Regions from separate parts of the Homo sapiens genome. Here all the other regions are linked to region 1. Evidence: promoter capture Hi-C in human tissues and cell types (Jung and others, 2019). All regions are on one chromosome and are shown on one strand. Each heading gives the region's core, a stretch centred on a gene start or on the middle of the fragment in contact. The rest is flanking DNA. Distances are from core to core; before and after follow the strand shown.

What was found. Contacts are between HindIII fragments. The study calls those that stand out against the background at their distance.
Region 2: a fragment that was not itself captured here is called in contact with the fragment with the promoter of RCE1 in region 1 in 1 of the 25 tissues and cell types used here (hippocampus).
Region 3: a fragment that was not itself captured here is called in contact with the fragment with the promoter of RCE1 in region 1 in 1 of the 25 tissues and cell types used here (dorsolateral prefrontal cortex).
Region 4: a contact is called between a fragment that was not itself captured here and the fragment with the promoter of RCE1 in region 1, in 1 of the 25 tissues and cell types used here (lymphoblastoid cells).
Region 5: a fragment that was not itself captured here is called in contact with the fragment with the promoter of RCE1 in region 1 in 1 of the 25 tissues and cell types used here (adrenal gland).
Region 6: a fragment that was not itself captured here is called in contact with the fragment with the promoter of RCE1 in region 1 in 3 of the 25 tissues and cell types used here (IMR-90 fibroblasts, adrenal gland and small bowel).
Region 7: a contact is called between a fragment that was not itself captured here and the fragment with the promoter of RCE1 in region 1, in 1 of the 25 tissues and cell types used here (dorsolateral prefrontal cortex).

What each region holds. Positions count from the first base shown.
Region 1 is chr11:66,841,314-66,845,658 of GRCh38, forward strand. RCE1 (Ras converting CAAX endopeptidase 1) reads left to right here and starts at 2,128. Exons shown (of 8, transcript NM_005133.3): 1 at 2,128-2,327; 2 at 2,446-2,548; 3 at 2,643-2,726; 4 at 2,973-3,051; 5 at 3,556-3,723; 6 at 3,853-3,924; 7 at 4,187-4,249. The coding sequence starts at 2,143. It overlaps TOP6BL (TOP6B like initiator of meiotic double strand breaks), which reads left to right. Exons shown (of 15, transcript NM_001302084.2): 14 at 1,536-1,756; 15 at 1,856-2,203. The coding sequence ends at 1,921. RefSeq lists silencers at 325-451, 1,669-1,808, 1,919-2,358 and an enhancer at 1,999-2,705. The HindIII fragment of the contact is 26,172 bases long and covers 1-4,345 here.
Region 2 is chr11:67,319,082-67,323,426 of GRCh38, forward strand. LOC100130987 (a long non-coding RNA gene) reads left to right here. Exons shown (of 4, transcript NR_024469.1): 2 at 2,189-2,252. Among named protein-coding and RNA genes, the nearest start is that of SSH3, 18 kb to the left of the region's middle. The HindIII fragment of the contact is 6,804 bases long and covers 1-4,345 here.
Region 3 is chr11:67,249,862-67,254,206 of GRCh38, forward strand. KDM2A (lysine demethylase 2A) reads left to right here. Exons shown (of 21, transcript NM_012308.3): 17 at 225-937; 18 at 2,833-2,996; 19 at 3,592-3,750; 20 at 4,342-4,345. Among named protein-coding and RNA genes, the nearest start is that of GRK2, 14 kb to the right of the region's middle. RefSeq lists enhancers at 3,638-4,345, 4,294-4,345. The HindIII fragment of the contact is 4,594 bases long and covers 1-4,345 here.
Region 4 is chr11:66,458,494-66,462,838 of GRCh38, forward strand. No RefSeq gene overlaps it. Among named protein-coding and RNA genes, the nearest start is that of PELI3, 6.2 kb to the right of the region's middle. The HindIII fragment of the contact is 3,279 bases long and covers 251-3,529 here.
Region 5 is chr11:67,218,424-67,222,768 of GRCh38, forward strand. KDM2A (lysine demethylase 2A) reads left to right here. Exons shown (of 21, transcript NM_012308.3): 10 at 865-980. LOC124902839 (small nucleolar RNA U13) reads left to right here and starts at 2,485; the gene lies at 2,485-2,593. RefSeq lists an enhancer at 3,835-4,345. The HindIII fragment of the contact is 8,883 bases long and covers 1-4,345 here.
Region 6 is chr11:67,162,787-67,167,131 of GRCh38, forward strand. All of the region lies in intron 2 of KDM2A (lysine demethylase 2A), which reads left to right. Among named protein-coding and RNA genes, the nearest start is that of KDM2A, 46 kb to the left of the region's middle. The HindIII fragment of the contact is 3,841 bases long and covers 4-3,844 here.
Region 7 is chr11:66,533,565-66,537,909 of GRCh38, forward strand. ZDHHC24 (zDHHC palmitoyltransferase 24) reads right to left here. Exons shown (of 3, transcript NM_207340.3): 3 at 2,062-4,345. It overlaps BBS1 (Bardet-Biedl syndrome 1), which reads left to right. Exons shown (of 17, transcript NM_024649.5): 17 at 1-34. Among named protein-coding and RNA genes, the nearest start is that of ZDHHC24, 10 kb to the right of the region's middle. The HindIII fragment of the contact is 6,777 bases long and covers 1-4,345 here.

The DNA.
Region 1 (4,345 bases), core at 878-3,377:
CACCATGTTGGCCAAGCTGGTCTCAATCTCCTGACCTCGTGATCTGCCCGCCTCGGCCCCCCAAAGTGCTGGGATTACAGGCATGAGCCACCGCGCCCGGCCAAGAGGCCTCTCCCACATCCAGGCGCTCACAAAGGCCTATCACTTAGGCCTGATGAACACTTCTGATTCCTGGTGACGCCTCTATCTCCACTGTCTTTACTTGTTATTGGGCTCTTAAGGTCTTCCTGTCTCTAGTTTGATCTAAGCCACACCTTTGAAAGAACGATCTTTCTGAAGTACAAAATTACCAATATATTTCACCAGTGCTTAAAACTCTTTATTGGCTTCCTGTCTTCTACAGATGAAAATCTGTTTCTAGCCAGGCAAGGTGGTGTGTGCCTTTAGTCCCAGTTACTCGAGAGGATGAGGCCGGGAGTTCAAAGCTGCAGTGAGCTACAATCACGCCACTGCACTCCAGCCTAGGTGACAGGCGAGACCTCATCTTTAAAAAGTAAAAATTTACATAGGAAGTTGTTTTATGCCTTTGCATAAGGTTTGTGTTAACTTTCAGCAAGAAATTCCCTTTCTCTCCCTTGTCTGGCATATCACTCTTCATCCTTCAAAACCCAGCTCTGGGGCAGGAGTGGTGACTTATGCCTGTAATACCGTCACTTTGGGGAGCTGGGGCGGGAGGACAGCTTGAGACTAGCCTGGGCAACACGGTGAGACCCCTGTCTCTACAAGTAAAAAAAATTAGCCGGTGTGGTGGCATGCGCCTGTGGTTCCTGGTACTCTGGAAGCTGAAGCTGAGGCAGTAGGATCGCTTGAGCCCAGGAGGTCGAGGCTGCAGTGAGCCAGGACTGAGCCACTGCACTCCAGCCTGGGCAACAGAGCAAGACCTTGTCTCAAAAAAACAAAAGGTCAGCTCAGGTATCTCCTCATGGAAACCCTTCTTCACATCCAGAGGTGGTCGGCTTCCTTCTCTATTCTAACCCTGGGCTTTGTACACAGGTCTGCATCCCCTCCTAGCATCTGTGAGCTTCTCTCAGGGAAAAGCTCATTGATCTGCATCCCCAAGACCTGCTGGGGAAGAATCTATCCATCTAAACTCGCTTTAATTTGACAAATGAATCAGTTAAGAGTAGGAAAGCTGCCTATGGGCACTGCTCAATGCAACGTGAGCAACAAAGGGAGACAGAACTGAGGCCAGAAAGGTGAGGGGGGACAGAGGCTGGCAGGGAGGGGAGCTTGTCAGTGCAGACTCCAGGAAGAATCTATACAGAAAGTTACTGAGCGGCCTGAGTCCCCCAAGTGAGGGCTCGGGACAATCTCCCGCCTGGGTGAGAGAATAGGGAGACCCTGAAACGTCTCTGCAGCCTCGGGCTGCTCCAGAAGCGCCCACAGCTGCAGGGTTTTGGTGTGGATGGGACCTGCTGACAGGGATGCGGTGGGAAGAGCCCCTCGGCGCCCGTTCTCCCAGGCTTCCCCTTGGCCAAGGGTGCTCCTAGCACAGGGCCATGAAAGTAAGATGAAGAGGCTTGTTTTTCTCCTAGATACCAGCGGGCAAGCAGAAAACAAGAGGCTCAAGAGGGGCAGCCCCCGCATAGAGGAGATGCGAGCTCTGCGCTCTGCCAGGGCCCCGAGCCCGTCAGAGGCCGCCCCGCGCCGCCCGGAAGCCACCGCGGCCCCCCTCACTCCTAGAGGAAGGGAGCACCGCGAGGCTCACGGCAGGGCCCTGGCGCCGGGCAGGGCGAGCCTCGGAAGCCGCCTGGAGGTAACTGGGCGAGGGCCGCGCAGGGAAGGGCTCAGCAGGAGGTGCAGGCCACGGGCCGCTGCTGAGAGGTCCTCACCCCGGGCCCCCTTGTTCCCGCAGGACGTGCTGTGGCTGCAGGAGGTCTCCAACCTGTCAGAGTGGCTGAGTCCCAGCCCTGGGCCCTGAGCCGGGTCCCCTTCCGCAAGCGCCCACCGATCCGGAGGCTGCGGGCAGCCGTTATCCCGTGGTTTAATAAAGCTGCCGCGCGCTCACCAAGTCCTCTTCCGCGTCTGCTTCCGCGTCGGGCCCGGGCGGGGCGGGGCGGGGCGTGGAGCCGCGCCGCGGCCTGACGTCACCCACACCTCCCTGGGACTGCGTCACTGGTGCGCGCCGCGGGTCAGGGCGCAATGGCGGCGCTGGGCGGGGATGGGCTGCGACTGCTGTCGGTGTCGCGGCCGGAGCGGCCGCCCGAGTCGGCGGCGCTGGGCGGCCTGGGCCCCGGGCTGTGCTGCTGGGTGTCAGTGTTCTCCTGCCTCAGCCTCGCCTGCTCCTACGTGGGCAGCCTCTACGTCTGGAAGAGCGAACTGCCCAGGTGCGGGGGCTGCGCGCGACCGGAATCCGCGCCCTGCGGGCGGAGCTTGGGCGAGCCGGGGGCGGGTCCGTGCTCATGGGCAGCCGCGGGCCCCCTGAACTTACTGTCCCCTCCGTAGGGACCATCCCGCGGTCATCAAGCGACGCTTCACCAGCGTCCTGGTGGTGTCCAGTCTCTCACCCCTGTGCGTGCTGCTCTGGAGGGAACTCACAGGCATCCAGGTGCGAAGGAGGCGGGGCAAAGGGCAACGGCGGTGAGAGCTCAGGGGTCTTTAGGGGAGGAAGCAAAACTGATGCCCCCTTTCCTGTGGCTCAGCCAGGCACATCCCTGCTCACCCTGATGGGCTTCAGGCTGGAGGGCATTTTCCCAGCGGCGCTGCTGCCCCTGTTGCTGACCATGGTGAGTGCTCCTGCTGTATTTTTTCTTCTGGTCTTTGTTATCAGCCTGATGGGCAGTGCCGTGGACTCTTGTTTTTGGTTTTTGGTTGATGGGAGACAGGACTTTTGAGATGGCCCCAGGGTCCTCCGGTATGCATGGTCTGGAAATCGTGGCTGGAGAGGATTTCAAGCTTGGAGTCTCAGGGAGCATGGGCAAAGGTCTGGGCAAAAGCGGTGGGTTATGGTGAAAGTGTTTTCTTGCCCTCAGATTCTTTTCCTGGGCCCACTGATGCAGCTCTCTATGGATTGCCCTTGTGACCTGGCAGATGGGCTGAAGGTTGTCCTGGGTGAGTCTTAAAGGCTGAAGGGAAAAGTAGGCACAGGCAGTCCAGGACATTGGGGCAGGGAGTCAGCGGGCTCAGGGTGTGATCTGGACACGTGAAATGTCATCTCTCTGGGTGTGTTTTCTCATCAGTAAAATGGAAACATAGAGCTAGGTGGCCTCTAAGGGTTGATTGCCAACGTCCAAGGAGTTCCCTGGGAACCCCCAGCAGTATTTGGTGTGGATCAGAGAGCACTGTCCCCTGCTTCCCCAACCAGAGCTAGTCTTGCTTAAATTTTGGTGTCTCCAGAGTTTACTTCCAGGATGCCCTTGCCTCAGCTAATGCCTTCCATTCAGGTCATCTCAAGACATTGGGTTTATGTTGGGTCCACACCCCCGTCCTCAGCAGTATTGATGCCTAACCTGAGTTTGGCCAGGGTAAAGTTGTGGGAGAGGAGCCCTTGGAGCCTCTGGGGTCTCACTGTCTGACAGCCCGTCACTCACAGCTTGTCCTGAATTCCCTCTGCAGCCCCCCGCTCCTGGGCCCGCTGCCTCACAGACATGCGTTGGCTGCGGAACCAAGTGATCGCCCCGCTGACAGAGGAGCTGGTGTTCCGGGCCTGTATGCTGCCCATGTTAGCACCGTGCATGGGCCTGGGCCCTGCTGTGTTCACCTGCCCGCTCTTTTTTGGAGTTGGTGAGTCTGGCCAGATTAGTCCTGGTGTGTTTTCAGCATGAGAGCTCAGAAGGGGGCTTGAGGTGAGGGGCAGTCCTAGAAGGGAGGCTGGGAGGAATGACTGTGATGTGATTGTCACCTTTTTCCCAGCCCATTTTCACCATATTATTGAGCAGCTGCGTTTCCGCCAGAGCAGCGTGGGGAACATCTTCTTGTCTGCTGGTGAGTCCTGGCTAGCTGGCCTGGGTTAGGGTGTATGATGATGTCGCTAATGGCCACTCTGGAGAAGGAATTGGGAACTGAGGGCCACAGTATTGGAGAGGCCACTGACCGTGGGAAGTTGGGGTGCAGGACAGCTGTAGGTGGTGGGGCAGGCAGCTACTGCCCCGGGGGGAGGGGATGGTCGGTCTTTGGCTGATGGGTATGTAGTGTGGGGGCAGGAAGGGCGTGCAGGTGTGGTCACTCGTGGCCTCCCCGTCTCCAGCGTTCCAGTTCTCCTACACAGCTGTCTTCGGTGCCTACACTGCTTTCCTCTTCATCCGCACAGGTTGGTCCTCAGTCCCTCATGGGTCCCTGGGGGCCCACAGGAGCGGGTGGGAGAATGGGAATACTGTTTGTTCTAGGAACAAAAGTTCTTCTACTC
Region 2 (4,345 bases), core at 663-3,162, 480 kb after region 1:
GCTAATTTTTGTATTTTTTGTTAGAGATGGGGTTTCACCATGTTGGCCAGGCTGGTCTCAAACTCCTGGCCTCAAGAGATCTGCCCGCCTCGGCCTCCCAAATTGTTGGGATTACAGGCGTGAGCCACCACACCTGGCTAGGCAGGATGGTTTTATAGGCTGATTTTGATGGGGAAACTTGAGTCTTTTCACCCAAGGTTGGATGCTCAAGGCCAGTGTATTGCCTCCCTTCAGCTGTAGGCTGAATTATAGCGTTACCACACAGCATTTAGGGAGGATGCAGGCTTAATGCCACATAGTAGGGTGGATACTTAAGATTCATAGAGGATGTGAGTACTTATGATGCAAAAACAGCTGAATATAGAATTATGTATTTACATAAGACTGGTTACTTTCATGGTTATAAAGAATGCGTAAGAATTCTATGCTGCTTGCATTGAGTTCAAGCTTTGTGTTAATTGAGAAAATTGTAACAAGGAGTTTTAAATTAATGAAAAAAGTATTTTAAAAATCTGGGAACATCCAATAATTTCACGAACAAGCCTTCATTCGTCCAACAAACATCTTTATATGGAAGCTATATTCCGTGAAATTTTTTTTTTTTTTTTGAGACGGAGTCTTGTCTCACTTTGTCTTTCAGGCTGGAGGGCAGTGGTGTGATCTCGGCTCACTGCACCCTCTGCCTCCTGGGTTCAAGCGATTCTCCTGCCTCAGCCTCTCAAGTAGCTGAGATTACAGGCACACGCCACCATGCCTGGCTAATTTTTGTATTTTTAGTAGAGATGAGGTTTCACCATGTTGGCCAGGCTGGTCTTGAACTCCTGACCTCAGGTGATCTGCCCACCTCAGCCTCCCAAAATGGTGGGATTACAGGTGTGAGCCACCACGCTTGGCTTTCCATGAATATTTTTTGAGCACCTACTGTGTACATGGAACTGTGCAGGGTGCTGTGAGGGATATGAAGATGTATAAGACACTCTCTGCCCTCAGGAAATACAGTCTAGTAGAGGAGATCAATTATGCATTTAAAACATATAAAATTCAAGTAGAAAGTGATGTGTCATAGAGAGGTCCAGGTTACTGCTCTGAAGATTCAGAGGCAGGAGAGATCGCTGTCGAGTCACACTGTGTAATGAGAGAATCAAGAAGACAGCTTCTGAACCTCCTAAAGCATGTAAACAATGTGGATATGCCAAGAAGTAGGGAAAAGATATTCTGGGCACCCATTCCATAGCTTTGAGATACATGAAGAAGAGCTATCTGCAGCCCTGATTAAATGGTGAGCTTCTGGGAGGCAGGGACTAGATTTTGGTCAGCGTTTTCCTCCCCTGATTGGCACATGGTTGCCATGGTAAATATTAGTGAATGAATAGGGGCTATGAGTTTCCTGTAGAGAGGAATGGAGCTGTGGTCTCTATATTACCCTGAAGCTCTTTTATTAGACTCACCTGCTGTCTCAGAGCCATTCTTCTAGGGGAAGGAAGCGAATGGGCAGATGATTATGGGGCAAGGGCCATATTGTTGGCATCTTTGGCACAGTACCAGCTGAGAGCCCAGGGAACAAGGTCTCATCAATGGATAGGGGGTTTGTGAGCCTCTTTCCCTGGAACTAAGGTGAAGAACCATGAGGGAAGGAAACGGAAGCATAGGACCATGCAGCAGTCCTCAGGCCAGTGATGGACACTCCCTTGACTCTTGTGTCCATTCTTGGCTTTTCTTTTTCTATGGCTCCTTCCTAGGGAGATTTCTCTCCCATCTGTGACCCAGTTGGGAGTGGGAAACTGTGTCCACCATGCCAGCAGATTGCCAAGGCCTGCCGCTGCTGCACAGGAAGGAAGCTGACTTCAGCCAGGGCCCTGCCATTCTCCAGTTCTGTCCAGGGCTGAACCTGCCCTAGGAGCTAGCCTTGAAGGAGACCCCTTAGAGACAGGTGTCTAATGGCCTGTGGAGGGGAGAATGACCTCAGGAGCTGGGATAGCAAAAGTAGAAAAGGTTGAAAGGAGAATGGCTTGAGGACAGGGCAAATCCTCCCAAGTCCTGTTTAATTCATCCAAGGTCTAGATTCCCCGTGGAATGTTTTGTTGCTCAGAAGGTGGAGTCATCCTTAGAACAAGGAAGCTGGGGAGAGATTAAGCAGGTGCAACCAGACAGGGGATAGAGCACAACTGGCTGTCCTTTTTGTCCCTAGATATGGGATGCTGGAGGACATCTGGGGGCCACAAATGCTCCTTCTCCTGGAGACGCAACTCAAGGTGAGCCTTTACACCATCCTTCTGGCAGCCCGTGCTCCCTCTCCAGAGAATGGTTCTTCCTTTTCATCCTCCTTTCCCACTTCACTCCCGCTCCACAGGCTGCAGGTAAGGGCCTGCAGTGTGTATCAGGATTTCCTTATAGCTAAGTGCATGTGAAGCCTGAGTAGCTCCAGGCCTGGTACTTGATAAGAGGTTATGACAGCCCAGTGCCTGCCATGGAGGCCTCTGTCCACCTACTTCAAGGGCGTTATGGTCCTATACAGTTTACTAAGCACTGGCACTTACATGTGATCTCATTTGACCTCAACAGCTGTAAGGTCTTGTATTGTGACTTTCACTTTTCCACGTGAGGGATCTGATTTCTTAGGTTGTAGGTCAAAGAACTAAATGATGCCACTGAGAGCAGTGATCTTTCCACCACCTCCATAATCACTGACAGGGTGCCATCTGCCTGCTAGTGAGAGCACGGTCCTAGGTTAACCTGAAACTAGACCAAGACTCTCCTTTGTTCCCATTTCAGCTAGAATTTACTGCCCATTTTCCTCAGCGTCTTATCTCAGCACAGCTTCTGCCTGTCATTGGACAAGTTTGATCTGAGTTTCTCTCTCACTCTCATGCTCTCAGTACATGCTGACTTGTTCTCAGGGCACTGAGAACTTGTGCTCTTCCCCTTGACTCTGCCAGGTGCACCCTCTCCCAGATAGGCACCCTGGGTAGCTGTGAGACTTCAGGGGATTCTGTATCTGGGTTAGAGAACCAGGAATAGGAAAACTGTTCTCCCACTGGGTGGGGAAGGAAGTTAGCAAAAGTTTGCCTGATGGGATTGGCCTGGATAGTAATGCTACACCCTATGCGACCCCATCTCATTGGCAGCCCTGGCAGAGCAGCTCAGTGAGCCACAGAGGTAAAGGTGGAAGGTGAGTGCGGCAGGGAATGTAAAGGCTCAGGCTAAAGGCTAAAGCAGGGTCCCACCTGCTGGCATAACTCAAGCCAGAGCCATGGAGGCGGAGGTGGGAGACAGGTTTGGGTAAAGGAGGATGCCCCTGGGGAGAGGGAGCTGGTTATATGCATCCTACCTAATTTATCTTCATATGGCCTGAGAAGGCTTGGAGCTGGCCTGCTTTGCCCAGAACAGCAGCAGCCTGTCTCCCCAGGCAGCACACACTGCTGTGCAGCTCCTCTCTTGGTTTGGCAGACCGACTCCCATCCTCTGATGGCCCTCGAGAGACCTTTTTCACACCCTCCACCCTGCCTGGTGGCTCAGCTAGATGCCTCCCGCAGCTCTGTCCACCGTCTGAGATCTGATCATCCCAAATGTTCCTATGCCAGGCTGAACTCTGCCTTCTCAGAATGTCCTCACTCCTGCCAACCCAAAGCTCTTATTTTCAACACAGAAATGGGAAATTGGGAGGGAGGCTGAGTGCCATGGGGCCTAGAGCATGTGGTTTGGAGGCAACCAATGGAATCATTTTGGGGTCAATGGGATGCCTGAGCTGATAAGCAGAGATCCCCCGTCCCTACTCCCGAATATCCCTGTGGTGGGTGGGGCTGTGTATAGCAAGGCCTATATGCAGCAAGATCCACAGGTGGTCCTCACTTGCCTACCCCACCATCCTGCTCCAGCTTCACCCTCACCCTCCACCTCAGCCCTGTTCATTCCTCTCTTCCCTCTTTCCCTCCTCTCCTCCCTCTAGGTAGTGCAAGCAGCAGCTGTTGACCCTAGGGGCACATATGCTTGCCTGGCCTATCTGCACTTGAGCTTCCTACGGGTGCCCATCTTGGCCTGCATGCTGCAGGACTTGCGCTTCTGGGCAGATAGCTCTGATTCTTCTCCTCTTCAAAAGGAAAAAGGACTCAGATAAGAGAAGACGTTAGGGAAAGAAGACTTGGAAGTACATGGAGGCTAGATAGGAAGGAACTAGGTGGAAGGGATGCTGTCGGAGAATAACTGAAGGCACCAGGGGCCCAGGGTAGCTGTAAGGGCCTAATGGTCCCTGGGACTGGGTTGTGGGGCCAGGTGAGGCTGGTCTGATGGAGGAGCTGTTCTTGGAAGGAGAATTCTGTTTCTGGCTAGACCCTTGTTTGAGTACAAG
Region 3 (4,345 bases), core at 990-3,489, 410 kb after region 1:
TGGCTCACACCTATAATTCCAGCACTTTGGGAGGCCAAGGCAGGTGGATCACTTGAGCCCAGGAGTTGGAGACCAGCCTGGGCCGACTCTGAGGGAATGACCCCCTCTCCAACGTGACCTTTCTTCTCTCTGGTCCCCTGAGAGCAAGGGAGGTCCACCCTGTCGGTTCAGAGGGTTTGGAAGAAAGGAAGCACTGATGTTGCTTTTCTGGGCCTGTTTTGCAGAAGCGGAAAATGGAAGAGAGTGACGAAGAAGCTGTGCAAGCCAAAGTCCTGCGGCCCCTGCGGAGCTGCGATGAGCCTCTCACGCCCCCGCCTCATTCACCCACTTCCATGCTGCAGCTCATCCATGACCCGGTTTCCCCCCGGGGTATGGTGACTCGGTCATCCCCTGGGGCTGGCCCCAGCGACCACCACAGTGCCAGCCGCGATGAGCGCTTCAAACGGCGGCAGTTGCTGCGGCTGCAGGCCACAGAGCGCACCATGGTACGGGAAAAGGAGAACAATCCCAGCGGCAAAAAGGAGCTGTCTGAAGTTGAGAAAGCCAAGATCCGGGGATCGTACCTCACTGTCACGCTACAGAGGCCCACCAAAGAGCTCCACGGGACATCCATTGTGCCCAAGCTGCAGGCCATCACGGCCTCCTCTGCCAACCTTCGCCATTCCCCCCGTGTGCTAGTGCAGCACTGCCCAGCCCGAACCCCCCAGCGTGGGGATGAGGAGGGGCTGGGGGGAGAGGAGGAGGAAGAGGAGGAGGAGGAGGAGGAAGATGACAGTGCAGAGGAGGGGGGTGCAGCCAGGCTGAATGGCCGGGGCAGTTGGGCTCAGGATGGAGACGAAAGCTGGATGCAGCGGGAGGTCTGGATGTCTGTCTTCCGCTACCTCAGCCGCAGAGAACTTTGTGAATGTATGCGAGTGTGCAAGACGTGGTATAAATGGTGAGCAGGGATTCAGGGGGTCAGGAATTAGGGGTATGGGAGTAGGTGGCAGGTTTTCCATATGAGAACAGCATGCACCTTGGCATCTGAAAGCCTGTGGGGTCTTATGAGGAGTGAATTGACCCTTTTTCCCAAACTTTGGGTCCTGTTTAAAGATGTAGCCTGTTGTACCCGCAGATGTCATTAGGGAACTGGCCATTTGCCTCCTGGCCCTGCTCTATACTTTCCCATGTCTCATTGTTATGGGGAGGGAGACTGATTTGCGGGATAGATTTGTAGTCTGTGATAAAACTTGAGAGTCTTGCGGGCTGAAAATTTCCTCCTCAAGTCAGCTGAACTCATCACATGTTGGTTGAGAGCCTATGATGTTCTAGTCACTCTTCTGGTGCTGATAACACAGATAACCTCACTTAAGCCCCTGACTCAATTACCTCTCCATTCAGTGAGAGAAGTGGGCATGCTTTTCAAGATGAATTTGAAGGTGCTTAACATTTTTCTTCAGTTTTAATGCTCATCCCCCCAAACCTGGATCAGAATTCCCTCTTCCAGCAAGCAGAGTCCAGTTTTGAAGCTTCCTTAATGAGAGCTACCATTTCTTCTTAAGTTGGACAGACACTTGGGGGAAAAAATTGCTAGTGATGATGAACAAGGAGCTTCCCATTGGGCATTGTTGGTTTTTCCTTAAACTCTGGTATATATTTACTCTAGGATATATCCTTTTTATCTGGGTCACACACATCCTATTACAGTAGTGTGGTGTCCTGACCAATGGCATTCACTCAGGAACTTTTTAGAAATGTCAACTGTCAGGACCCTCATAGGCCTCTTAAATCAGAACCTCTTGGGTGGGCCCAGCAGTCTGCTTTAACAAGCGCTCCTCCAGGGGACTCTGATGCATGCTCGAGTTTAGAGCAGCAAAATCTGCTGTATTGTCAGCAGCTTGCTTCTGCCATAGAAGCTTCATGTGCCACTGGTAAAATTGTTTCAGTCTCTAAATAGACCCTATTCTTTGCAAACATGAGTTTATTTCCCAAATCTGAATTAATGTATAGTGTATCTAAATTCTCCTTAATATTTCTCTGTCTAGGGCTAATAGGACTGCTTGGCTCTACCTCTTGGTTTTCAGGGCAAGGCACATCAGATTCCCGTTATGTGCTGTCTCTCTTCCCCTGCCAACCAGGCTGGGGGGCAGGGGCTATAAAATATTAAATTGAAGCCAGCATGTTGTGGTTTGTGGCCTGTAGATTTGTAGACTGCAGTGGAAAGCCAGGCCTATCCCTTTCAGTTCTGGTCTGGCCTGGCTAGAAAATGTCAGGATAGCACTGAGGCAGAACTTGAGGGTGAGAGAGGACTCTGTAAGCCTGATAAAGAGCCTCTTTTGACCTGATACAGTAATGGGCTGAAGGCAGGGTGAATTGTGGATGTGCTGAGTAGCACCCTGCATTTCAGGCAGCTGCGAGTGATTGACAAGGGAGGGAACGGAGCAGGCCTTCTTAGCTTTAGACAGTAAGAAGTCTAGAAACTTCAAGAGGCTCCCTTATATACACTTCAGCAGGAACCATGCCATTTTAATACAGATGAAGGGGCTATAGACTGTTGCTTGCTATGGGTCCCTAACAACTGTTGTGTTCTCAAACACTCCAGAATAAATCAGGGTAAAGTGGTCAAGTTATATACTATCAACATGTAGGTTTGCAAAGCGTCTAGTTGTTGTAGAGTTCAAGGCAATTTTTTGCCTATTCTGTGAGGCAAAAAATGATAAGGTGTGATCCCTGTACACTTGTAGAAGAACGAGCCTCCAGGTACTCTGCTTTTCCCAGAAGCCATAAGCAGCCTGTGATGGGAGCTCCACTGATCAAGTTAATGAAGGCGAGTTCTCTTCCCTTCTATCACAGGTGCTGCGACAAGAGACTTTGGACAAAAATTGACTTGAGTAGGTGTAAGGCCATTGTGCCCCAGGCCCTCAGTGGCATCATCAAGAGGCAGCCAGTCAGCCTTGACCTCAGTTGGACCAACATCTCTAAAAAGCAACTGACATGGCTCGTCAATAGGCTGCCAGGTAAGTGAGCAGCCCTGCCGCTGTCTTTCCAGGGGCCCAGAAGAAGCGGGCAAGAAAAGTTGCATTATTGGCAGTGCTTCTTAGCATCACTGGAGGGCAGTGTAGGGCAGCAGTCCCATGCCATTGTTGCTTAGCAAGAGGTTTACCCAGGGCCATCTTAAGTGTCAGTCTCCCAGGCAGCACTCTGGACTGGCAGGCCAATCACTGCAATGGACAGCAAAGAGAACGGAATCAGTGTTGCTGCCAGCCCTGCAGTTCTCCTCAGCATAACCACTAAAGAGGAAATTTGAGTCAGATGTTACTTTGGTCAGCTCCTTATAAGCCCTTGTTCTCTTCAGCATTTTGAGCTCTTAGAAAGACAGGAAGTCACTCCTTCTTGTATTGCTCTGGTGGGAACTAAGCAATCAATTTACCACTAAAGCTAGAAGATGTAGTATAGGATACCATGGAAATCTTTGAGCTGGATGACTAAAAGATTAGGCATAGTCCTTCTCTCCTATTAGACTGGAAGTTTGTTCACTTTGCTCAGATCGTTACGGCTCTGAGTATGCTGGGAAACAGTGTATTATTACATGTCTCATTCCATCCATTGCAGGACTGAAAGACCTCCTCCTAGCAGGCTGCTCCTGGTCTGCAGTCTCTGCCCTCAGCACCTCCAGCTGCCCCCTTCTCAGGACCCTTGATCTTCGGTGGGCAGTAGGAATCAAGGACCCTCAAATTCGGGACTTGCTTACTCCACCGGCTGATAAACCAGGTATGCTCTGGACCTGACTTCTCTGTGCTTGTCTTGGGGTAGCTTTGTCTTCCAAACAGACCTCGTCTTCAGAAGCTAAGGTAGTCTCAGATATGACGCTGTGGAAGAATAGAAGAGCACAAAATGAAAACAGAATGATGGACTGTGTACAAGAATAGGGTAACTATAAGCAGATAACTACCTACAAACAATGGAGTAAGTCCATTTTGTGAGTTGGTGGAGTTTGGGGCCCAGAGAGTGTAAGCCTGAAAAAGTCTGAGAAGGCTTTATGGTGGAGGTGGAGTCAAAAGCTATTTGCATGATGGTCTAGAAAAGTGTGGTGGTATTGGAAGGGGAGGAGCATTCTGCACATAGCCTTTTGCTGTGTGCATGAGGCATAATCTAGCAGCTTGAGAAGAAAGAAAACTTGTCTGGTTTCCTAGAAACTGCCTACACCCAGTGCTCACACCCTGAAGGCATGGCTGGGTGTGGGCAGTTCTACTTAACCCCTTCAAGGGGGCCTGGCCAGCAAGTAGCTGTTGCTGCCTGGAGCCTTGAAGCTGGATTAGAGAATTGAGAGTTTTGATCTAGGCTCTTCTCTTGCCTGTACAGGTCA
Region 4 (4,345 bases), core at 640-3,139, 380 kb before region 1:
AAAAAAAGAAAGAAATACCTGAGACTAGGTAATTTATAAAGGAAAGAGGTTTAATTGGCTCACAGTTCTGCCAACTATACCAGAAGCATGATGCTGGTATCTGCTCAGCTTCTGGGGAGGCCTCAGGAAATTTACAATCATGGTGGAAGGTGAAGGGGGAGCAGACATGTCACATGGCCAGCAGGAGCAAGAGAGAGTGAAGTGCCACACACTTAACCCCAGATCTCATGCGAATTCATTCACTATCACAAGCATAGCACCAAAGGGATGGTGCTAAACCATTAATGAGGAACTGCCCCACCAATCATCTCCCACCAGGCCCCATCTCCAACATTGGGGATTACATTTCAACATGAAATTTGAACAGGGACATATATCCAAACTATATCACGAGGTCTCACTATTGTTGCTCAGGCTGTTCTTAAACTCCTGGACTCAAGCAATCCTCCCACCTCGACCTCCCAAAGCTGCTGGGATTACAGGCATGAGCCACTGCTCAGCCTCACTGTGGCTTTTGTCTTAGACTCTTGGGTCACTTGTTTGGGAGAATCCAGCTGCCGTGTTGGTGTTGTAAGAACATTCAAGCTGTCCTCCAGAGAGGTCCACATGAAGAAGAACCCAGGCTTCCTGCCAACATCCAGCGCTCACTTTCCAGGCATATGAGTGAGCCTCTGGGAAGTAGATCACCCGGCCCTCAAGCTTTCTTATGACTAAAGTCCCAATTGACTTCTTAACTGCAACCCCATGAGACACTTGAGCCAGAACTCAGGTCCCAGCATAGGAAAACAGTGTATTTCATGGCAAATATGACACCATCTGGAAGTGAAACTCTTGTGGTGACTGATGTTTGACCCCCACATACCAAGGTGCTCTGCAGTAAGCTCTTTAAACAACACCTTCTAGCATAGAAAGCCCCTCACAAAGATGCTTATCTAAACCCCGCCAGTGGTCATGGATCTTGGCAAAAAGAAGTCTGAAGACGTGACCAGCTGCACATGTTTTACCCTAAAAGAGAAAGGATACCTTCTGGAGTGTGGGTGCAGGGATCCATTGTCTTGCAGCCGCCTAAGACATCACTTCTGTTTCTAAGTCATTAAATGTTTCTTTCTGAGAAACTGGATTTGTCAGTCTCTTTCTTCAGCCTCTCAGCTTTCTTGGACTTTGGGGGTAGGTTTGCATGGAACTGCTCATAACACTCAGCTAAACTGCTTTCAAGTTCGTGATTCCTAGAAACTGTATGAGATTAAACACTTACTCTTTTAAGCTGCTTAGATTGGGATAATTTGCTACTCAGCAATAACTAAGACAGATTTGGTGCCAGCTGGGCACAGTGGCTCACACCTGTAATCCTAGCCCTTTGGAAGGCTGAGGCAGGAGAATTACTTGAGCCCAGGAGTTCAAGACCAGCCTGAGCAACATAGTGAAACTCTGCCTCTACAAAACATAAAAATAAAAATTAGCCAGGCACAGTGGCATGCTCCTGTGGTCCCAGCTAATCAGGAGGCTGAGGTAGGATGATTGCTTGATCCCAAGAGTTTGAGGCTACAGCGAGCCATGACCATGCCACTGCACTCCAGCCTGGGCGACAGAGCCAGCCAAAAAAAAAAAAAAAAGATTTAATGCCAGGAGTGAGGACAATAAAAAATACCTAAAAATGTGGGAGTAGTGAGCAGAGGCTAGAAAGACTTTAAGTATAGTGTTAGCAAAAGTCTGAAAGCCTTTGTATTAGTCATCCACTGCTGTATACCAATATACCACAAACATAGCAGCTTAAAACAACACACATTTATTACTTCAGTTTCTGTGGGATCAGGAGTCCAGGCATGGCTACGCAGAGTCCTCAGCATAGGGTGTCACATGACTTCAATCAAGGAGTCTGCTAGGGCTGTGGTCTCATCTGAGACTCAACTGGGGAAGAATCCTCTTTTTTTTTTTTTTGAGACAAAGTCTCACTCTGTCGCCCAGGCTGGAGTGCAGTGGCGCTATCTCGGCTCACTGCAAGCTCCACCTCCTGGGTTCACACCATTCTCCTGCCTCAGCCTCCCGAGTAGCTGGGACTACAGGTACCCGCCACCACACCCGGCTAATTTTTTTGTATTTGTAGTAGAGACGGGGTTTCACTGTGTTTCACTTTCACTCCCAAAGTGCTGGGATTACAGGCGTCAGCCACCGTGCCCAGCCAAAAAAAAAAAAAAAAGATTTAATGCCAGGAGTGAGGACAATAAAAAATACCTAAAAATGTGGGAGTAGTGAGCAGAGGCTAGAAAGACTTTAAGTATAGTGTTAGCAAAAGTCTGAAAGCCTTTGTATTAGTCATCCACTGCTGTATACCAATATACCACAAACATAGCAGCTTAAAACAACACACATTTATTACTTCAGTTTCTGTGGGATCAGGAGTCCAGGCATGGCTACGCAGAGTCCTCAGCATAGGGTGTCACATGACTTCAATCAAGGAGTCTGCTAGGGCTGTGGTCTCATCTGAGACTCAACTGGGGAAGAATCCTCTTTTTTTTTTTTTTGAGACAAAGTCTCACTCTGTTGCCCAGGCTGGAGGGCAGTGGCACGATCTCGGCTCACTGCAACCTCCACCTCCTGGGTTCAAGCAATTCGCCTGCCTCAGCCTCCCTAGTGGCTGGGATTACAGGAGTGCACCACTACACCTGTCTAATTTTTGTATTTTTAGTAGAGATGGGGTTTCACCATTTTGGCCAGGTTGGTCTTGAACTCCTGACCTCGGGTGATCCATACACCTCAGCCTCCCAAAGTGTTGGGATTACAGGTGTGAGCCACCACGCCCAGCCCAGAATCACTTTTGTTGGCAGATTCAATTGCAGCTCCAGGACTGAGGTTTTTTTTTTGTTTTTTTTTTTTTCCTTCTGCTGGCTGCTGGCTGCAAACCATTCTCAGCTCTTAGAGATCACTCTTGGTCCCTGATACATGGGCCTCCCCATATGGGAAGTGCACAAAATGGCAGCTTGCTTTTCTAAAGCCAGCAAGGAGTGAGAGAGACCCCAGCAAGACAGGTGCTACAAACTTATATAACATAATAACATCACTATGTGCATGTAATCAGGCACAACCCATCACCTTTGCCATATACTGTTGGTTAGAAGAAAGTCATAGGTCCTGCCCACCCACATTCAAGGGAAGGGGTTGACATAAAGGTGTGAATACCAGGAGTGAGGGATCATGGGACTACTTTAAGAAGACTGATGGCCTTAGAGAAGGCTGATAGTGAAAGCTGAAAGGAAAGTGGGAAAATATTATTGGATCTCAAGGGAAGGAGATCCTTGTTGTATAGTGGCAGGTAATTTAGCAACATTGTCATCCTTCATAATGTGTAGATTGGTATGGTAGCTCCTACCTGCAATCTCGACAACTCAGAAGGCTGAGGCTGGAGGATCACTAGGAGTTTCAGAACGGCCTGGGCAACATAGCTAGACTCTATCTCTAAAAAAATGTTTTTAAATAGAAATAAACTAAGCTGGGCATGGTAGCATGTGCCTGTAGTCCCAGATACTGCAGAGGCTGAAGCAGGAGGATTGCTTGAGCTCAGGAGCTCAAGGCTGCAAGTAATGCACCATTGCACTTCAGCCTGGGCAACAGAACAAGACTCTGACAAAAGGCAAGGAAAGAAAAGGAAGGGAGGGGAAGGGAAGGGAAGAAAGAAGAAAAAGGTAGAAGATGTGCCTAATGAAATATGTGATCTAGCTAAGGAGATTTCCAGGCAAAATGTTACAGGTAGTACCTTATTTCTTCTTCCTGCTTAGAGTAAAACATGAGAGTTGAGAGGCAAGTTATAAACTGACAGGAGCTCTGTTAAACCAAAAATAGTTAGAATTTGATGATTTTGAAAATTCCCAGCCTCAGCCAGGTGCAATGGCTCATGCCTGTAATCCCAGCATTTTGGGAGGCTGTGCAGGTGGATCACCTGAGGTCAGGGCTTCAAGACCAGCCTGACCAACAAGGTGAAACCCCATCTCTACTAAAAATACAAAATTAGCCAGGAGTGGTGATGCATGCCTATAATCTCAGCTACTTGGGAGGCTGAGGCAGGAGAATCACTTGAACCCAGGAGGTGGAGGTTGCAGTGAGCCGACATCACACCATTATACTCCAGCCTGGGCAACAAGAGCAAAACTTCGTCTCAAAAACAAACAAACAAACAAACAAAGAAGAAGAAGAAAATTCCCAGCCTCTCCAGCCAAAAACAATGCTAAAATTAAGAAATGGCTTCTGGAAAAAGATCACATCAGAAAAACATGGTATAAAGTTGAAGCCAAGAGGCCAACAGTATGCCTGTAAATTCCCTAAGACTTCAGGTCTAAGGCAATAGAACCAT
Region 5 (4,345 bases), core at 619-3,118, 380 kb after region 1:
GAGAACACATGTAAACCAAGCTTATCCAACCTGCAGGCCACAGGCCTCATGCAGCCCAGGATGGCTTTGAATGTGGCCTAACACAAATTCATAAGCCTTCTTAAAACATTATGAGATTTTTTTTTTTGCAATTATTTAAGCTTGTCAGCTGTCATTAGTATTAGTATATTTTATTTTATTTATTTATTTATTTATTTTGAGATGGAGTCTTGCTCTGTAGCCTCAGGCTGGAGTGCAGTAGCGTGATCTTGGCTCACTGCAACCTCCACCTCCCAGGTCCCAGTTCAAGCAATTCTCCTGTCTCAGCCTCCCGAGTAGCTGGGATTACAGGTGTGCACCACCATGCCCAGCTAATTTTTGTATTTTTACTAGAGACGGGGTTTCACCATGTTGGCCAGGCTGGTCTTGAACTCCTGACCTCGTGATCCACCCGCCTCAGCCTCCCAGAGTGCTGGGATTATAGGCGTGAGCCCCCGCGCCAGGTCATGTTAGCGTATTTTATGTGTTGCCCAAGCAATTCTTCTTCCAGTGTGGCCCAGGGAAGCCAAAAGATTGGACACCCCTGAATTGTAAACTATCTTGTACAGAGCCTGGTTTATAGTTGGTGCTCCAGTAAACGTTTATTATGTGCTAAGCATTTGATGTGCATTTTCTCATTTAATGCTCATGAGCAACCATAAGAGGTATTATTTATCCTGGTTTTATAGAGGAAATTGAGGCTTTGAGAGATTAAGTAACTTGACAAACCACTAAGAAGCAGAATCAGAGTGAAGAGTGTGATCTAGGGGTCTTGTACTAGTTCTCTGAGAGAGACTTACTGTAATGTGTGTTTTCAGCCACTGCCCTCTGTTCCCCTTCTCCTAGGCTGGATTCATGCTGTGTATACTCCTACAGACACATTAGTGTTTGGGGGCAATTTTTTGCATAGCTTCAACATCCCTATGCAGTTAAAAATATACAACATTGAAGATCGGACACGGGTAAGTAATCTTATGTAACAGTTGCATGTGAAGAGGTTTACTCCAGTTATGATAGATGTTACAAGAGATTCACTGATGGTTTATCAAAACTTCCATTTTTCTTTCAGTTAAAATGCAGTGTTGACATTTTGGGAACACACAAAATTTTAAATTTAATTTTTTTTTTTTTAAGGCAGAATCTTGTTCTGTTTTCCAGGCTAGAGTGCAGTGGCGTGATCATGGATGATTGCAGCCTCAACCTCCCAGGCTCAAGCATCTTCCTGCCTCAGCCTCCCAAGTAGCTGGGACCGTGGGTGCACACCACATCTGACTAATTTTTAATTTTTTTCGTAGAGACTTGGTCTCACTGCGTTGCCCAGGCTGGTCTAGAACTCCTGGTTCAAGCAGTCCTCCCACCTCAGCCTCCCAAAGTGCTGGGATTACAGGTGTGAGCCACTGCGACTGGCCAAATAAAAATTTTAACACGATTTACATACTCCGTTTTAGGGACTCCAATTCTGTGAGGTTTTTGGTATCTTGGATTTCTTTTTCTTTCCTTTTTTTAAAATTTTATTTTATTTTATTTTATTTTTTAGCCAACACCATAGTGAATGGGAAAAAGTAACATTTTTTTCTTTTAATATTTGGGACAGAGTCTCACTCTGTTGCCCAGGCTGGTGTGCAGTGTCACAGTCATGGCTCACTGCAGCCTCAACCTCCCTGGGCTCAGTTGATCCTCCCACCTCAGCCTCCCAGGTAGCTGGGACTACAGGCACACGCCACCACATGCAGCTAATTTTTTTGTATTTTTTGGAGATGGGTTTTTGCTGTGTTGCCCAGGCTTGTCTTGAACTCCTGGGCTCAAGTGATCTGCCCGCTTTGGCCTCCTAAAGTGCTGGGATTACAAGTGTGAGCTACTGCATCCCACAGTATCTTGGATTTTTATAAGGCCAGACATTTACCTCTGGTAATCTCTTGAGCCATGTGTTTCATTTTTATGCTCACAGAATAATTTGGTGTAATGGGGCTTATCAACCCAAATTTCAGAACTTTAAATTCATGTATCTTTTTCTACACTGATGACTATACTCAAAGCATCTTACTTTAATTATATAAATGTATATACTGTCTTTCTCAACTGGGGTTTCAAGAGAGAATTAAGCCCAAAATAAAATAATTTGTGTATCTTATTTTCTCATTTTTCTCTAGGATGATACACAGCTAATACCCTTCTAGATGCATAGAAAAAAGTTAATTTATTATATACAATGGATACCTTAAGGCAAGAGTTGACAAACTTTTCCTGCAAAGGACCAGATAGTAAATATTTTAGGCTTCGTGGGTCATAAAGTGTCTATTGTAACTGTTTAACCCTACCTTGTAGCATGAAATACTTAAACAAATGAGTGTGGCTCAAATAATATAAAATTTTATTCATAGACACTGAAAGTTGAATTTCAGATAACTTTAACATGTCACAGAATACTCTTAAATTTTTTTCAACCATTAAAAAATGTAAAAAACGATCCTTTTATATAGTTCATGATCATGATTAGGTGTTCATGCACGTATGTGAAAGATGCCACCCTTGAACCTTGTTACTATTAATACGTCAGCACATTACCTGTCTGACCCGAAAAAAAAAAAAAAAGGTAAAAAACACTCCTAGTTCACAGGAATCATAAAAAGAGGCAGCAGGCCAAATCCACTAAGTGTTGTTTGCTGGCTAGCCTCCACCTTAGAGAATGAGAGCTTATTTTTTAGCAGAATTCTAATTGGTAAGGGCTGAATCATATATGAAAGTATAGATGATACTGGGATTAAACAGCAATTAGAATATTTGGGGGTTGTGATGTTTGTAAGTTACTCTCAAGTAGCTTAGCAGAATACTAAGCTAGTATGGAGATGAGCAGATGTGGAGAAATGTTAACAGTTGGAGAATTGCAGAGAAGAGTGTAGAACTATTAATGCTACTGCTCTTGAAACTTTTTGGTAGAATTAAAAGTATTAAAAATTTTAAAATAACAATTAATGAAGAATTCACAACTTTTATATGAATGGTCTTTTATATATTATAGGAATGGTCACTGACCTATGTACTGCAATAATAGTCAACCATTATGGTGCCTATTTTGCAACATTTATTTTGGTGTAGGAGTTACGTATCACTATACACATCATTGATATTATTGTTGGAGTTACAGGAATTGCCCTACTAGTAGAATTAAGAGAGGAAGCCAGTGCTTCTTCAACACATTTTATAAAAGTACATTTCTTTTTATTTGTTAAGAGTAACAAAAGTACAGTTCAGGCACAGGGGCTCATACCTGTAATTCCAACCCTTTGAGAGCCCAAAGTGGGAGGATTATGTGAAGCAAGGAGTTTGAGACTCTCCTGGGCAACAAAGCCGGGTGTGGTGGTGCATGCCTGTAATCCTAGCTACTGGGGAGGCTGAGGTGAGAGGATTGCTTGAACCTAGGAGTTCCAGGTTGCAGTGAGCTATGTTGGTGCCACTGTACTCCAGCCTGGGTGGAAGAGTGAGACACAGTCTGTTAATTTAAAAAAAAAAAAGATGTCTATTCTAAAATAGGTAAATATTCTAAAATAGGGAAAATGTTTCAAAAGAAAAAAAATGTATAATTCCATAGTAAAATACTCCTGTTTAACTCTGTCATTCTTTTTTTTTTTTTTTTTTTTAATTTATTTTTTTATTGATAATTCTTGGGTGTTTCTCACAGAGGGGGATTTGGCAGGGTCATGGGACAATAGTGGAGGGAAGGTCAGCAGATAAACAAGTGAACAAAGGTCTCTGGTTTTCCTAGGCAGAGGACCCTGCGGCCTTCCGCAGTGTTTGTGTCCCTGATTACTTGAGATTAGGGATTGGTGATGACTCTTAACGAGCATGCTGCCTTCAAGCATCTGTTTAACAAAGCACATCTTGCACCGCCCTTAATCCATTTAACCCTGAGTGGACACAGCACATGTTTCAGAGAGCACAGGGTTGGGGGTAAGGTCACAGATCAACAGGATCCCAAGGCAGAGGAATTTTTCTTAGTGCAGAACAAAATGAAAAGTCTCCCATGTCTACTTCTTTCTACACAGACACGGCAACCATCCGATTTCTCAATCTTTTCCCCACCTTTCCTGCCTTTCTATTCCACAAAGCCGCCATTGTCATCCTGGCCCGTTCTCAATGAGCTGTTGGGCACACCTCCCAGACGGGGTGGTGGCCGGGCAGAGGGGCTCCTCACTTCCCAGTAGGGGCGGCCGGGCAGAGGCGCCCCTCAAAACTCTGTCATTCTTAGAGGTAATTATGTACCCATTCTAAGATTCAGTCTGAAAATTGGTTTTTAGAATGTGTTCCCTTTTTATGGTTAAAGATGACT
Region 6 (4,345 bases), core at 674-3,173, 320 kb after region 1:
CACTGGAACCTAAAATTCCTGGGCTCAAACAGTCTTTCCACCTCAGCTTCCCAAGTAGCTGGGACTGTAGGCATGTGCCACCTTGCCCAGCTAATTTAATAAATTTTTTAGAGATGGGGTCTGGCATTGTGTCCAAGCAGGTCAAACTCCTGGCCTCAAGTGATCCTCTTGCCCCAGCCTCCCAAAGCGTTGGGATTATAGGCTTGAGCCACCAAGCGTGGCCATGATTTCTTTTTCTTAAAGTTAGGAATTGAACTGTATCCTACTTTTGTTAGTTACTTCTCTTCTCCTTTAGTTTGTTTTCAGCCTTCTGCCCTAGTCAGACTGATATCCAGAATTTTGCTCTTGCATAACTTCATTGCTACTCTGTCTTCTAGCGCTACACTTTCGTATTTATGTTTGACCTTCCTTCAAACTCTCTTGAAGGATCAGCAGCTGCATAACCAACTCTACCACTTAGGGCAGGGCCTTCTCAAATAACATCTTGCAGAGATGGCCACTTCATATTAAATCGGTGGCAGGATACAGTTGTTGAATTTCATAAAATTTCATCCCTAGGATTAGACATTTGATATGAAGAGATTTAGAGATGGAATCATAAAAGAGTTAATTCCAAAAGGTATGGACTTGGAAAATTCTATGACTTGGAATGATAAAGAAGGACATTTAATGCCATTGGAGAAGAGGCAAGTATGACTTATCTCTAGCCACTTAGGCCATTCTTTTTGGGACATACAGTTGATTTCCAGTCCAATGTAGAATCATGTTCAAAATCACAATTGCTGGGCCAGATGCCGTGGCTCACGCCTGTAATTCCAGCACTTTGGGAGGCCAAGGCAGGCAGATCATGAATGAGGTCAAGAGATCGAGATCATCCTGGCCAACATGGTGAAACCCCGTGTCTACTAAAAATACAAAAATTAGCTGGGCGTGGTGGTGCGTACCTGTAATCCCAGCTACTCGGGAGGTTGCAGCAGGAGAATCGCTTGAACCTGAGAGTCGGAGGTTGCAGTGAGCCGAGATAGCACCACTGTACTCCAGCCTGGTGACAGAGCGACACTCCATCTTAAAAAAAAAAAAAAAAATCACAGTTGCTGATATTTTTTGAGTATGTGCTAGATACTTTACATCTTTCATTTAATCCTCATACAACCCTGTGGAATGGCTTCTGTTATTACTAGTTAAGTAGGTCAGACACAGTGAGAGGCTGAACCAGGATTTGAACTCTAGAAACCTGGTCTGGACCCTGCCACTACTCTATACAGCCTCTTTTTATATATAAGGCCACATTTGCAAAGTATTTGTATATATGTTTTCATTTAAACATCACAGCCATCCTGTGCATTAGGTGACATTCTTGACATTTTCACATGAGAAAATGGAAGCTTAGGGAATTTGAAGCTCAAAGTGGCAGTGCCTAGACCCAGACCTACTTCTGACTCTAATCCATTTGTTCTTCTGATTATGTAGTTTTGCTAAACATAGTAAATATAGGTTCATACCTGAAAGTGAATTTTTGATTTCAGATATAAGAATTTTAGCTTGATTGAAGATGATTTCTTAATGTTTTAGATGGGATACTTAAATCTGGAGAAGTTTAACAGAGATGTGATTATTAACTTACATTTTTAGTTTCTCTGGTGGCTTGTGTATAACTGTTCATTAAGTGTTGATCTTGCTATTGGCCTTTTTTTGTTGTTGTTGTTTTTTTGTAGCGATGGGACATTGCTCTTTTACCCAGGCTTGGTCTTGAACTCCTAGTTTCAAGTGATCCTCTACCATGGCCTCCTAAAGCACTAGGATTACAGGCATGAGCCATCACACTTGACTGCTGTTGGACTTTTTTTTTTTGGAAACGACATCTTGCTCTGTCGCCCAGGCTGGAGTGTAGTGGCACAATCTCGGCTCACGGCAACCTCCACCTCCCAGGGTCAAGCGATTCTTCTGCCTCAGCCTCTTGAGTAGCTGGGACTGGTTATTTTTTGTATTTTTAGTGGAGGTGGGGTTTCACTATGTGGGCCAGGCTGGTCTTGAACTCCTGATCTCAAGTGATCTACCCACCTCGGCCTCCCAAAGTGCCGGGATTACATGTGTGAGCACCGCGCCTGGCCTGCTATTGTACTTTTTAATGATGTTAGTCAGTTTACCACTCTTAGAGTAACTTTCTTAGGTAATTTCAGCGATGAAGACATAGTTTTCTCTGCTTTAACTTTAGTTGGTGCAGATGGGGTGACTGAACACATAGAAGGAAAGAGGTCTTGCCAGGACTGTAATGTAATGGTGGTAGTGGGACGGGTAGGAGTATATGTGTTTGAAGGGAGTAATTTAGAATACCAACTTTTTTTTTTTTTTGAGACCGACTTTCACTCTTGTTACCCAGGCTGGAGTGCAGTGGCGCGATCTTGGCTCACCGCATCCTCCACCTTCTGGGTTCAAGCAGTTGTCCTGCCTCAGCCTTCCTGAGTAGCTGGGATTACAGGCATGCGCCGCCACACCTGGCTAATTTTGTATTTTTAGTAGAGACGAGGTTTCTCCATGCTGGTCAGGCTGGTCTTGAACTCCTGACCTCAGATGATCTGCCCACCTCAGCCTCCCAAAGTGCTGGGATTACAGGTGTGAGCCACCGCACCCAGCTTAGAATACCAACTCTTGATCTTATGCCAGTTCCTTCTAAAGCTTCTACTCCTAGATGTGAAATTTCATAAATCTTAAGTTTGACAGTTTGAAATAGAGGTCATTTGTTGATTAAGAGACTGACCTTTGTCTATGAATCAAAACATTAATCACAGCTCCAGAGAGAAGGATCATGTAGGAAAGCTTCCTGATGAGAGGAATGTAGCAAAGCTGGAAAATAGGTGCATTTATAGACTATCTTCTGGTTTCAAGTGACTGCTTGCTATCTCCCTTAATTCACTTAAAGACTTAGGAGAAACAGCATGTGTGACAAATTTCATGGTTTTTATCATTAACCAAGCAAAGATCTAGAGTTAGTGTTTTTTAAGACAAGCTGTTCTTTCAGGTTTATAGTAACCTTTCTTGACTGGCAAAAAGAAAGGTCACTCTTACTTCCCCTTTAGATTTACGGTCAACTTTTAGGGGTTTTTTCTTTTTCCATAACTTCTTATTTGTATAATACTTTCATTAATCCTTATATTCTAGGAACTAAATTGGCATGACCAGTACCATGTATTATACTGATGACTTAACAGTTGCATCAATTATAAAAGGTGGTGAAGAAACTAGGCATTATCTTTGTTTCCCTTTTCTGTGTTTGTTGATACAGAAATCAGGCAGTAAACAGAAGTATTCAGGGAGTATTTGTATTTCAGTAGGTGTTTCACTGGCTAATGAAAATCAAGTTAAAAAATTGGTTGACTTTCAGGAGAAACAATATTTCTCTTTTTTTTTTTTTTTTTTTGAGACAGTCTCACTCTATCGCCTAGGCTGGAGTGCAGTGGTGTGATCTCGGCTCACTGTAATCTCTCCCTCCTGGGTTCAAGTGATTCTCGTGCCTCAGCCTCCCAAGTAGCTGGGACTATAGGCACATGCCATCATGCCCGGCTAATTTTCACATTTTTTAGTAGAGACAGGATTTTGTCAGGTTGGCCAGGCTGGTCTCGAACTCCTGACCTCAAGTGATCCGCCCGCCTTGGCCTCCTAAAGTGTTAGGATTACAGGAGTGAGCCACGGTGCCTGGCTGAGAAACTGAATATTTCTGAGTTATATTATTGTTTCCAATAGTAGTATTTGTGTATGAGGGTGGAGTGGGGGTGCTTTAAAGATTACTTCTTGCCCGGCATGGTGGCATAAGACCTGTAGTCCCAGTAACTTGAGAGGCTGAGGCAGGAGGATCTCTTGAAGCAAGGAGTTCTGGGCTGTAATGCAGTATACAGATCAGGTATCTGTACTAAGTTTGGCATCAATATGGTGACCTCCCAGCAACTGGGGACCAAGAAGGGAGTACACTGGTTCAGGTTGGAAACTGAGCAGGTCAAAACTCCTGTGCTGGGCTGAGCGTGGTGGGTCATGTCTGTAACTCCAGCAATTTGGAAGGCCAAGGCGGGCGGATCACTTGAGGTCAGGAGTTTGAGACCAGCCTGGCCAACGTGGCGAGACCTCGTCTCTACTAAAAATACAACAAATTAGCCAGGCGTGGTGGTGCACGCCTGTAATCCCAGCTATTCAGGAGGCTGAGGCAGGAGAATCACTTGAACCTGGGAGACGGAGGTTGCAGTGAATTGAGATCATACCATTGCACTCCAGCCTAGGCGACAGAGCGAGACTCTGCCTCAAAAAAAAATTAAAAAGTTTAATATTGCGAGTTACTGCTTTTGTTAGCACCCAA
Region 7 (4,345 bases), core at 1,364-3,863, 310 kb before region 1:
AGAGTTGGACTATAATTAAATTACCTTCCTTGTACTTTCTTTTTAATGGAGTTAATGAGTTGCCCTGAGTTTCTCATTTACTTTGTTTTCTGATGGACTGATTGCTAATTCTTCCCCCACCATCTGACAGCTCCTCTTTTTTCTAGACACTTCCCTTCATCCCCTGCTTCACTGAGGACTGTTTGTTTTCCAGGTAAATTGCCTTTGCCTCTCTCCTGGGCTAGATCCTGATTCCTGGGCCTGATGGCTTCCTATTTCTCAGTTCACCCTCATTTGGTGAAACATATCCTCAAATATCTTCTTTAAAAAGTCATGGCCAGAAGGCTGGGCACTGTGGCTCACGCCTGTAATCCCAGCACTTTGGGAGGCCGGGGCAGGCGGACCACCTGAGGTCAGGAGTTTGAGACCAGCCCGGCCAACATGGTGAAACCCTGTCTCTACTAAAAATACAAAAATTAGCCAGGCGTGGTGGCAGACACCTGTAGTTCCAGCTACTTGGGAGGCTGAGGCAGGAGAATCGCTTGAACCCGGGAGGCGGAGGTTGCAGTGAGCTGAGATTGTGCCACTGCACTCCAGCCTGGGCAAAACGAGCGAAACTGGCTGGGCGTGGTAGCTCACACGTGTAATCCCAGCACTTTGGGAGGCCGAGGCAGGCAGATCACAAGGCCAGGAGTTCGAGACCAGCCTGGCCAACATGGTGAAACCCCATCTCTACTAAAAATACAAAAACTAGCCAGGCATGGTGGCAGGCGCGTGTAATCCCAGCTACTTGGAAGGCTGAGGCAGGAGAATTGCTTGAAACAGGAAGGTGGAGGTTGTAGTGAGCCAAGATCGCGCCACTACACCACTCTAGCCTGGGCAAGAGCGAAACTCTGTCTCAAAAAAAAAAAAAAAAAAAAAAAAAAGCGAAACTCTGTCTCAAAAGAAAAGAAAAAAAAAAAAGTCACTAGAGGCCGGGTATAGTGGTTCACACTTGTAATCCCAGCCCTTTGAGAAGCCAAGGCAGGAGGATCGCTTGAACCCATAAGCTGGAGACCAGCCTGTGCAACATGGTGAGACCCTGTCCCTACCAAAAAAAATAAAGTCATTAGAGTTTTTAAAGATTTTTTTCATTTATTTTATTTTATTTTATTTTATTATTTGTTTTTTGAGACGGAGTCTCACTGTGTCGCCCAGGCTGGAGTGCAGTGGCGCGGTCTCGGCTCGCTGCAAGCATCACCTCCCAGGTTCACACCATTCTCTTGCCTCAGCCTCCCGAGTAGCTGGGACTACAGGCGCCTGCCACCATGCCCGGCTAATTTTTCGTATTTTTAGTAGAAACAGCGTTTCACCGTGTTAGCCAGAATGGTCTCGATCTCCTCACCTCGTGATCTGCTAGAGTGTGCTGGCGTGATCTCGGCTCACTGCAACCTCTGCCTCCCGGGCTCAAGTGATTCTCCTCCATCAGACTCCCGAGTAGCTGGGATTACAGGCATGCACCACTGCACCTGGCTAATTTTTGTATTTTTAGTAGAGACAGGGTTTTACCATGTTGGCCAAGCTGGCCTTGAATTCCTGACCTCAGGTGATCCGCCTGCCTCAGCCTCCCAAAGTGCTGGGATTACAGGCATGAGCCACCACACCTGGCCTGGACACAACTTTTGTTTTTGTTTTAGTTTTTTTGAGACAGAGTCTAGCTCTTGTCACCCAGGCTGGAGTGCAGAAGCACGGTCACAGCTCACTGCAGCCTCGACCTGCTGAGCTCAAGCCATCGTCCCACCTCAGCCCACCCCCATCCCCCACACTACAGACGCACTACCACACAAGGCTTTTTTTTTTTTTTTAAGACACAGGGTCTCACTATGTTGTCCAGGCTTGTCTCAAACGCCAGGCCTCAAGTGATCCTCCCGCCTCAGCCTCCCAAAGTGTGGGATTACAGTGCCCAGCCCCCATTAATTTTGTATTTTGCAGAGACAGGGTCTCACTATGTTGCCCAGGCTCACAGTCTATTTTGATAGTGCATGTATAATAGCATACGATATCAGATACTTAAGAATTAATCCAATTTAAAAAGGCATGATCTTTATGGGAAAAGGTACACAACTTTATTGAAAACATTGAGTGCAGAAATAAACCCTGCTCATGAATGGGAAAATTCAATTTTACACAGGTGCTGATTTTATCCAGACTGATCTATAGATTCAGCTGGGTTCCATTCTACATCTCAAGGGGTTTTTGGGGGGAATTTGACAAGCTGATTCTCAAGGTTACATGGAAGAGCAAGGGCCGAGACTAGAGTTTAGGAGATGATTCCCAAAGGGCACAGGGGCAGAAAAATGACCAGTGGAACCACATAGAAAAATCAATTATTGTATTTTCAATGGATCACTAGGCAGCAGGGAAAAGGAATGCCATACAGCTACACACAATAATCCGGATACATCTCAGGAACATAATCAAGTGAAAAGGCAAACTGTAAAAGAATAAACTCTGCATGATTTCATTCATATATTTGAAAACATGCAAAGCCAACACAAACACATTAATAAAACTATAAAGCAAAGCAACGGAATGACTGAAACAGGACAGTGTCTCCCCCACCAGGAAGGGGCAACAGCAGGAACTTCGAAGGAAATGGTAACCTTCTCAAATGCAGTGGGGCTGTTTCCTCTTAATTTTTATAAATGTGTTCTTGTAGCTCCTCACTAATTAAAAACAACAACAACAACGAGTCCAGGCATGGTGGCTCACACCTGTAATCCCAGCACTTTGGGAGGCCAAGGTGGGCAGATCACCTGAGGTCAGCAGTTCAAGACCAGCCTGACCAACATGGTGAAACTCCATCTCTACAAAAGTACAAAATTTAGCAGGGCATGATGGTGGGTGCCTGCAATCCCAGTTACTTGGGAGGCTAAGGCAGGAGAATCGCTTGAACCCAGGAAGTGAGCCAAGATCGCGCCATTGCACTCCAGCTTGGGCAACAGAGAGACTCCATCTCGAAAAATAAAACAAAACACACAAAAAAACATGAAAATAAGATATTGTGGGCTGGGCGCAGTGGCTCATACCTGTAATCCCGGCACTTTGGGAGGCCGAGGCAGGTGGATCACCTGAGGTCAGGAGTTCCAGACCAGCCTGACCAACATGGAGAAACCCCGTCTCTACTAAAAATACAAAAACAATTAGCCGGGCATGGTGGCACATGCCTGTAATCCCAGCTACCGAGAGGCTGCAGCAGGAGAATCGCTTGAACCCGGGAGGCGGAGGTTTCGGTGAACCAAGATCGCATCATTGCACTCCAGCCTGGGTAACAAGAGTGAAACTCTGTCTCAAAAAATAAAAAGAGAAAGAAAGAAAATAAGAAATTGTGGAGGGCGAGGGATGAAACAGGACAAGGTGAGTCTGCTAATGCGTCTGTGCAGCCCAAAGTGCCAGGTACACCAAGTTCCTCCTGTCATTAAAAAATAGCAACAGAGCATGCCTGTTACAAAAACAACCAGCCAAGCAGCTCAGATCTTTGTGGGCATGGGCAGAGCCTGTCAGAGGGTGGGTTTCTCTGAAGGTTCTTGGGGGTCAAGCATGTTCTTTCATGGGAGGCCCCCCAGCAGTATCTATGGACTTTCACTTAACCCCATTTTTTGGTCTAGCCTCTCACCCACCCCTCCCCAGTACGCCTAAGACCCGAAGCTTCTCTGGTTCCATTTATCCTTCAAATAATCCTCACGTCACACCACCCCACCCAGAGGTGTAGCTGCTGGCTGCATGATGTGGGTGGGGTGTGGGTGGGATGTGGGGGAGCGGCACCCCACTGATCCTTACATAGACTTTCCATCGGTCCCCATTGTTGGCCGAAGCCTCACCTCACCCTCCATGGTCCTGGTGGAGTTCCTGAGCCCCTCCGGGGCTCTGGCAGGTAATTCCACTTGCCTTTTGGCCCCACCTTTTGGGAACACATAATTTCAGCTCTTAATTCTCCATCCACTTTCCATCTTTGAAAATGTCAGCCAGGCGGCCGGGCACGGTGGCTCACACCTGTAATCCCAGCACTTTGGGAGGCCAAGGCGGGCAGATCACGAGGTCAGTAGATCAAGACCATCCTGGCCGGCCAGGAGTGGTGGCTCACACCTGTAATCCCAGCACTTTGGGAGGCCGAGGCAGGTGGATCACAAGGTCAGGAGATCGAGACCATCCTGGCTAACACGGTGAAACCTCGTCTCTACTAAAAATACAAAAAATTAGCTTGGCGTGGTGGCAGGCACCTGTAGTCCCAGCTACTTGAGAGGCTGAGGCAGGAGAATGGCGTGAACCCAGAAGGCGGAGCTTGCAGTGAGCCGAGATCGTGCCACTGCACTCCAGCCTGGCAACA